Linked DNA regions of Homo sapiens: region 2 is linked to region 1. Evidence: promoter capture Hi-C in 16 types of primary human blood cells and fetal thymus (Javierre and others, 2016). All regions are on one chromosome and are shown on one strand. Each heading gives the region's core, a stretch centred on a gene start or on the middle of the fragment in contact. The rest is flanking DNA. Distances are from core to core; before and after follow the strand shown. Region 1 holds the start of MTERF4 (mitochondrial transcription termination factor 4). Region 2 holds the start of MAB21L4 (mab-21 like 4).

Evidence for each region. Contacts are between HindIII fragments. The CHiCAGO score rates a contact against its expected background, and 5 or more counts as called.
Region 2: a contact is called between the fragment with the promoter of MAB21L4 here and the fragment with the promoter of MTERF4 in region 1, in 4 of 17 cell types (M2 macrophages, endothelial precursors, M0 macrophages and 1 more). The highest score is 9.3, in M2 macrophages.

Annotation. Positions count from the first base shown.
Region 1 is chr2:241,101,037-241,105,468 of GRCh38, reverse strand. MTERF4 (mitochondrial transcription termination factor 4) reads left to right here and starts at 3,182. Exons shown (of 4, transcript NM_182501.4): 1 at 3,182-3,216. The coding sequence starts at 3,196. RefSeq lists enhancers at 2,856-3,395, 3,396-3,935. The HindIII fragment of the contact is 6,512 bases long and covers 1-4,432 here.
Region 2 is chr2:240,893,410-240,897,695 of GRCh38, reverse strand. It overlaps MAB21L4 (mab-21 like 4), which reads left to right and starts at 1,540. Exons shown (of 5, transcript NM_001085437.3): 1 at 1,540-2,212. The coding sequence starts at 1,699. RefSeq lists enhancers at 369-1,004, 2,277-2,912. The HindIII fragment of the contact is 9,523 bases long and covers 1-4,286 here.

The sequences.
Region 1 (4,432 bases), core at 1,933-4,432:
TCATCACTTGCAGACGGTTTTTCCACATTCTGAGACTCCTGCCCAGAACCCTCTGGAAGCTGCCTGGGAGCCAGGCTGCCTCCTGCGTGGTTCTGAGCTATTTCTAGTGGTTATTTAGGAGGCACTCAACTGTTTTGGGATGATCAGAGTTAATTTTAGTCCCATCTAGTAGGATATGGGCTATTGCCATCCCTTTCTTCAGAAAGTGCTGCCTGAGCCTCGCTGCCACCACAAGTGACTGATGGAGTTGGTGGGGGAGGACCCTCCTCTATCAGGGACATTCAAGGTACAAGGGTTTTACAGGTGTGTATTAAAGTCAGTGATGTTCACTCTTCAGAATTCAAAGAGTTTTCTGATGTTTTAAGAACCCCTACCTTGTAGTGTTTATGGTGCTTATAACACAGAGGATGTTATAGAATGGTGTTTGTTTGTTTGTTTATTTATTTAGAGACAGAGTCTTATACTGTCGCCTGGGCTGGAGTGCAATGGTGCGATCTCAGCTCACTGCAACCTCCGCCTCCCAGGTTCAAGCAATTCTGCCTCAGCCTCCCAAGTAGCTGGGATTACAGGTGCCCACCACCACGCCTGGCTAAATTTTTGTATTTTTAGTAGAGACGAGGTTTCACTATGTTGGCCAGGCTGGTCTCAAACTCCTGACCTCATGATCCGCCCGCCTCGGCCTCCCAAAATGTTGGGATTACAGGCATGAGCCACTGCGTTCGGCCACAATGGTGTTTGCAGACAGGTGTTTAATGGGTTGAGAATGCATAGTCTGAGCTTTCTAAGAACTGTTACTTCTTTATAAGAAAAAATAATTAAAGCTCATCTGACTTCATGGCAGTGGAAGGTCTGGTATTTTGCAAACGTTCTTTGCAGAAAGAACCCAGAGAGGAAAGTTCTGAGGCTGAGGCTGACAATTTTTCCACTCCATTTTTTTTTTTTTTTTTAAGATGGAATCTTGCTCTGTCACCCAGGCTGGAGTGCAATGGTGCAATCTCGGCTCACTGCAACCTCCGTTCCCTGGGTTCAAGCAATTCTCCTGCCTCAGCCTCCCGAGTAGCTGGGATTACAAGTGTGCGTTATCACGTTACCTGGCTAATTTTTGTATTTTTAGTAGAGGCAGGGTTTCACTATATTGGCCAGGCTGGTCTCGAACTCCTGACCTCAGGTGATCCACCCATCTCAGCCTCTCAAAGTGCTGGGATTACAAGCATGAGCCACCGTGCCCAACCCACTGCATATTTTTAAAGTATGGTTCGAGAGAGCAAAGTTTTCACACAAGACTGAAGGTGATGTCAAATTTTTTTTTTTTTTTTTTGAGAAGTACTTTCGCTTTTGTTGCCCAGGCTGCAGTACAATGGCGTGATCTTGGCTCACTGCAACCTCCGCCTCCCAGGTTCAAGTGATTCTCCTGCCTCAGCCTCCTGAGTAGCTGACACTACAGGTGCCCACCACCATGCCTGGCTAATTTTTGTATTTTTAGTAGAGATGGGGTTTCACCATGTTTTCCAGGCTGGTCTCAAACCCCTGACCTCAGGTGATCTGCCCACCTCGGCCTCCCAAAGTGCTGGGATTACAGGCGTGAGCCACCACACCCGGGCTCATGTCAATTTTTCATAGTAATCCCCATGTCCCAGCTGTCATTTTATTTCTAGAGCTAGACAAACTGTTCAGGTTCCTTGATTCTTTCCAGGGAGTTGGGGTGGCTCATGGGATTTTCTTAGGCTTTTGGTGTAGCATTAACACAATTTATTGTGAGATGTTGACAGTTGAGTATTTTGAGAAGAAAATTACATTATAAAAAACAACAAAGGCAACCAATTTTTTTTTTCCTTTTGTTTTTTGAGACAAGGTCTTGCTCTGTTACGCAGGCTGGAGTGCAGTGGTGCAATCATGGCTCACTGCAGCCTCAACCTCCTGGACTCAAGTGATCCTCCCACTTCAGGCTCCTGAGTAGCTGGGACTACAGGTGCACGCCACTACTCCCGGCTAATTTTTTATTTTTTGTAGAGACAGGATTTTCCTATGTTGCTCAGGTTGGTCTTGAACTCCTGAGCCCAGGCAATCCCCCCCACCTCAGCCTCTCACAGTGCTGGGATTACAGGCGTGGGCCACTGCACTCTGCCAAAGCAACCAATTCTTTAGTTTCTACACGGATTAGAACCTTCCTTTTCTTTGACATAATCCTTTTGTCAAAAGACAGTTTTACATAAATTGTTTGGCACCCCACTCCATGCCTGGCGCAAAGCAGATATGTAAATGTGTGCCCATGCAAGAATCAAATCCTTTATGTCAGTCCAGAATGAAGTAGATAAAACAAGAAATGCTTATAAATTAAGGCTTTGGTGGCAGGATTTAGGCAGCTGAGAAAGCACACCTTTTTATTCTTCACAAGCATCACCTTGTGAAAGATGCCTACGCTCTTAGGTCGAGAGAGGAAATTTAAGAATGAATACACATTGGGCTAAAACTTTACTATATTTCATCCTAAGAGGGAACCAGACCTCGAAGTTGGGAAGGCTCTTGCTTATAAAGGGAAATGTGCCGTAATTCCTGTCATTTTACTTGGGTCTTTTAAAAACGGCAAATTCTCATCTTCCACTGGCTGAGAGTAAAAAGAAAGAAAAGCGGTAAAGACTTCTTTTTGTGCGTAGGTGGCCCCGGTGTTCACGCTGAATACAGATTTTTACACAATAAAATCTTAAATATCTCTACATGGAACGGAATCCATTTTTCCTGCCTCGGGAAGGATTTCTGCGCTCTCGGGTGAAGTTCCCGAAGCAAGGAACCAGTTCCCCTCTACCTGTACTCTTGAGAGGAATTCTCAGGTCATCTGAAACACAAGTATGGGCCAGGACGACCCATTCGTTCACGCGGCCCAGAGCTCTGCGAAACGGGACACGGCAGTGCAACGGGAACAACCGGACACCGAGGCCCCCGAAGGCTGAGGCCGCGGCAGAGGCGGCGGCACGGTGACGGGCGCGACTCCGGCCTTCCGGCTTTCTAAGGGGCGGCCCCGGGACACCTGAGCCCCGCGGGGCCGTGAACGCTCAGCACAGCTCCGGGCCGGAATCACGATCCACCACACCGCGCTGGCGCTGGGAACGGCGTCGGTGACGGACCGGGGGCCGGAAGTGAAGGACGGGGGAGGACCGCTGCTTCCGGCGCCGTAACTGCTGCCATCTTCTCCGCGCTATGGCTGCGTTCGGCCGTCAGGTAAGCTCGAGCTGGGCGCGCGGGCTTCTCCGGGTCGCAGGCGGGCGGGCAGCGACGCAGAGGAACCGCGGCCGCCGAGTGTTTCACGGCCAGGTCGTGGAGCCCTCCCGGAGGTCCGTGCACGCTGACCTGGTTTTGGCATCCTGGACCCGTGGCTCTGCTCAATTATTGTGGGATATAGAGTTGACATTTTTTTTTTTTGAGACAAAGTCTCGCTCTGTCTCCAGGCTGGAGTGCAATGGCGCGATCTCGGCTCACTGCAACCTCCGCCTCCCGGGTTCAAGCAATTCTACTGCTTCAGCCTCCCAAGTAGCTGGGATTACAGGCGCCCGCCACCATGCCTGGCTAATTTTTGTATTTTTAGTAGAGACGGGGTTTCACCGTGTTGGCCAGTCTGGTCTGTAACTTCTGGCCTCAGGTGATCCACCCGCCTCGAACTCCCAAAGTGCTGGGATTACAGGCGTGAGCCACCGCGCCCGGCCTGAGTTGACTGTTGAACAAGAGTTTGAACTTCACAAGGAAGATAACATGTACTTTTCATTAAGAGGAAGCGGAATCAGCATAGAGGTCTTTAGGCTTGAGCCCAGTTCCACGGGCCGCGCCCGCTGACCCCAGCGACTGCCAGGTGTTCCTGGCGGAGGGAGCATCTGGACAGGGGAGGCTGGAGAGCAGCCAGAGCTTGGGCTTGGCAGGGTGGCCCCAGGGCGACAATCGATGACGCTGGAGAAGGGGTTGGGACCGATGTGAAGGTTTTAGAGCAGGGGTTCCCCAACCCCCGGTACCGTCCCTTGCCTATTAGGAACCAGGCTGCACAGCAGGAGGTGAGCGGCAAGTGAGCCAGCCAGACTGTATTTACAGCCGCTCCCTTCGCTGGCATTACCGCCTGAGCTCCGCCTCCTGTCAGACCAGCCGCCTTAGATTCTCACTGGAGCGCGAACCCTATTGTGAACTGCGCCTTTGAGGGGTCCAGGTTGCGCTCCTTATGAGAATCTGATGCCCGATGATCTGTCACTGTTTCCCATCAACCCCAGATGGCACCTCCTGGTTGTAGGAAAACAAGCTCAGGGCTCCCAGTGATTCTACATTATGGTGAGTTGTATAATTATTTCATCTTATATTACAACGTGAAAATAACAGAAATAAAGTGCACAACAAATGTAATATGCTTGAATCATCCTGAAACCCCTCACCAGTCTGTGGAAAAATTGTCTTCCAT
Region 2 (4,286 bases), core at 291-2,790, 210 kb after region 1:
GGCGAATTCAGAACACCGGGAGGTTCCTGGGAAGGAGGAGCTGGGACACTGAAGGTGTCATCAAATCACAGATGTTGAAGCCAAGGCCCAGAACAGGCAGATGAGCTCCCTGGGCCACTGCGGCCGAGGGTGAGGGGTAGGACCCCAGCTGCCCTGCAGCAGCGTCCACCTCCCCCAGGCCAGAGTCCTGTGGAGATGGAGGAGTGTGGCACACGGCTGTGTGTGGGGACCTAGGCAGGCCGTGGGTGAGGGCCCAGGACAAATGGGGCCTTGAACCTGAATGGCTGCCCTCGGGGAGGGGGACACGTGCTCTAAGCAACTCCAGGGAACAGGAGTGGGCCAGCTTGGAGGAGGGATATCTGTCTCTCGCTTGACCGTGGGCTACCCTGTGAGGTGGTGAGCTCCCTGTCCTGGGAGGCATGGAAGCAGAGACCCGCTCACTGGGCTGCAGCCCCTCATAGGGGCTTCCAAGCACCAGGAAGTGAGTGGCTGTTGCCCCCTGCCCCACCCCTCCTGGGATCCTGGTTCTGCCCACAGCTCTGACTCAGATGCAGCTCCCCGGGGGGTGAGAGGCCCACGTGCGGTGGCTACAGGGGCAGCATCTCCACGACGCCCCTGTGGGGCCATCTCCATGTTCACTGTTTGCAGACACCCCTGTGGCTGAGCACCCGATGCACTCGGCCAGCTGGCAGGGCCAAGGGTCGATGGGGCGGCTCCCTGCTGGTTGGGACTTGCACGGCCCTGAGCAGGGGAGGGGGGCGGGGCTGGCAGGGTACCTGGTGCAGGTGCTGGAGGGGGATGGTGGGGCGAGTTTCTCCACCTGGGTGAGGTGGAGCCACGGAGACTGCTTTTCTCCAGAACCAGACGAGCTCCAGCTCCCAGGCTAGGTGGGTGCCAGCTCCTCTCAGGTTGGAGGCTGGGCAGGGTGGGGTGGGGTGGGGTGGGGACTGGTAGCCCAGGGGTCCAGGGCCCAGATGGCTGGATGCACAGCTGGGGCAGAGGCAGGAGCCATGCCAGGACTGCAGCCTGTAAGCCGGGCACAGGTGTCTGAGGGGAACATTGCAGAGACGCAGCCTCCAGGTTCCCAGCCTTCCAGGCAGCCTTAGAGAGTCGGGGGCTCCCCCACAGCGGGGTCTGGGCAGCCACCGCCCTGCCTCCCCTTCCTCACTGAGCCACGGGGTGCCTTGTGTTCCCTCCAACCTGGCAGGGAGGCTGGGGCAGGGGGGCCTGATCCAGATACCCGGCCCCTGGGCTGTGGGGAGGAGGGTGGAAGGAGGCCCATCAGCAACACACAGAGGCTCCCATCCCAGGGACGGCACAGTCCAGCGGCAATATTTCTCCAGGGACCCCAAGCCTGGCTGGGACAGGGGCCGTGCCTTGGGCCTAAGATGAGAGAGCTCTTCTGAAGGGAGGGAGGAGGGTGGTAACCAAACCCAGCCCCCGCCTGCCCTGCATGGCCCCTGTGACATTCCCAATTGCTGGGGACTGACTCACCCCCACTTCAAAGGCCTTAAATAGTTCAGCTATTTCACCTGCCACACTGTGCTGTCACTCTGGAATTCTGCTGTGTGGGAGCTGAGGCCCCACCTGCAGACCTGCTGCTCACCTGGGCAGGTGCCTCCTCACAGCCCATCTGCACAGCTGGCCTGCGGAGTCCTCCTCAGGGGCCACTGGCCCTCACCTGCCACTGTTGAAGGGATGCCTGCCCCTGCTCTCCCCACCTCAGCCATGGCCGTGCAGGTGCCCCTGTGGCACCACTACCTGCAGGCCATCCGGTCCCGGGAGGCGCCGCGTGCCCAGGACTTCCAGCGCGCAGAGAACGTGCTGCTCACGGTGCTGGAGCGCGTGCATGCCCTGGACCCCCGCTTCATCGTGGACTACTCCCGTGGCCTGGAGGCCTTCCAGTTCGCCCTGCGCTCCTCTGAGGACCCAATGGACATGGAGGTGCCCCTGTGGGTGGATGCCGAGGCTCTACTGATTGAGGAACCAGAGGCCACCCAGCCGGAGGATGGCCTTGAATTATGCCACCTGGGTGTGCCCAGGGAAGGGGCTGGCCTGGAGCGGTGGACCACCGAGGATACCTTCACTGCCTCCTCGGAGGGTGACGCCAAGTGCCGTGGACACATTGTGCCCAGCAAGGTCCTGTGTGTCCTCAAGGACCTGCTGGTAGCAGCCATCGTACACTGCAAGCACCACAGTCTCATCGCACCAGGTACAGGCACAGCCCACTCTGCACGCGTATCTGCGTGTACCGAGGGGCTGCTGTGTGGGTGTCTGTGTGCAAGTGTGTGAGTGCACATGTGTGTGATTGCCATGTACGTGCACACAGGGTGGCGACTGTCTTCTGTGTGTGACTGCACGCACAGGCATGTGTGCACGTGTGTGACACTGTGCAAGTGTGAACAGTGTGTTGGGGCACAGAAGTCGGGAGACCTCACTTAGGTCTTCCAGCTCCAAATGCCTGTAACAAGACAGATGACGTGTTCCGTGTCGTGTGTGTTTGCACGGGGGTTCCACGGCTGCCAGTCGTCCAGTGGCTGGAGTCTGGGGCAGCTGCTTCACTGGTGGCCTTGCAGGAGGGTCCCTCACACGGCTCTGGGCAGGCGGCTCTCTTGCCAGTCACAGCCTGTGACCTCGAGGCTCCCCGAGGCCATCCCGTGCCCACTTCCAGTGTCTGATGATGTTGCACCAGGTGGGAGGGGTGTGTGTGTGCCTGCCTGCGTGCGCGTGAGTGCAGGGGTGTGAATGCGTGTGCAGGTGTGTGCCCGTGTCTTATCAGCTTATGGCTGAGTTGTCTATTGGTGTCTTGAGCCCCAAGTGGGCTCTGAGGCTGGGCTTCTGCGTGGACCAGGGGCTGGCCTCAGTCTCTCCTCTGGGGCCTTTTGTTTGTTTGTTTGTGAGACTGAGTCTCACTCTGTCACCCAGGCTGGAGTGCAATGGCACGATCTTGGCTCACTCCGCCTCCTGGGTTCAAGCGATTCTCCTGCCTCAGAATCCTGAGTAGCTGGGATTACAGGCATGGGCTACCACGCCTAGCTAATTTTTGTATTTTTAGTAGAGACAGGGTTTCACCATGTTGGCCAGGCTGGTCTCGAACTTCTGACTTCAGATGATCCGCCCACCTGGGCCTCTCAAAGTGCTGGGATTACAGGTGTGAGCCACAGCACCAGGCCCACCTTTGGGGCCTTGTTGATATGGTCCAGGGTGAGTCTGAGCCCAGGGCTCCTTCAGCAGGGGCTGCCTGGACGGCGACGGTCGCTGGGAGGACAGGGCTCAGCCTGTGCAGGGGCCAGGATGATGGGGACCCTGAGTGGTACAGCCATCCTCCAGGGGGTCAGGTTGTCCTGGAAGGGAACTGGGGACTGGAACAGAATTTGTCACATGTGAGTCACCACAGTCCTCACAGGGCTTTGTTGCCTCGAGTCACCTCCCTAGTATTCATCTGACCCTCATGTCCTCCGTGAGGTCAGCGGGTGGGGTCAGCTCACCTTCGCGAGAGGCCATGATCTGCTTGGGGATGCCCGGCGCTGGGGCCTGCCTGGAGGCAGGGGCACCTCCTGTGGGTTCTGGGGAAGGGTGTGCTGCCACCGCCGCACATAGCCAGGCCTCCAGTCTGCATGCTGGGAGGCCAGGAGGGTGGATTCTAACAGAAGCCCTCCCCAGACCTGTCTAGTGCCCTGGGGTAAGTGACTGACCTGACCTCTGGGGTGTCAGCTTCTGGTGCTCCCAGCCAGCCCTCACCCTGCCCCCAGCCCCTCGGGCTTCCTGCTCCAGCATCTTCTGAACCTCTAATCATGCAGGCCATGGGGTGGGTATTTCTATCTTCTTCCCGACCTCACTTGGCCCTGTCCCCACCTGTGAGACAGGCCCACCCATTGGGGTGAGCAGGAGGCCGTGCCAGGCCCTGAGTCATTCGGATTTGCTCTAAGCCGCCAGGCTCCTCACGCCCCCAGAGTGCCTCCTGAGAAAGCAGACTCGATACTGCAGGCCGCGCCCACAGCCCCTGAAGCTGCGCTGGGCTGGGCATGCAGGGAGATTCCAGGCATCGTTTCCTGACACTCACCTTAAAGGGGAAGTGGCAGCCTAGGTGACAGGGGTCAGGCTGCCCCCACCCTGGGAACCGGTGAGACCAGCCCGGGGCTGTGGCCTGTGGCCGGGCTGGTGCAGTTGCAGCTGCCTTCCAAGCTGCCAGGTCACGGGCAGTGAGCGTGCGTGGCCCACGGCAGATGAGGTGTGTGGCCACTAGAGGCGGCTCTGAATGGCAGGCACCTCAAGTGCTGCATGGG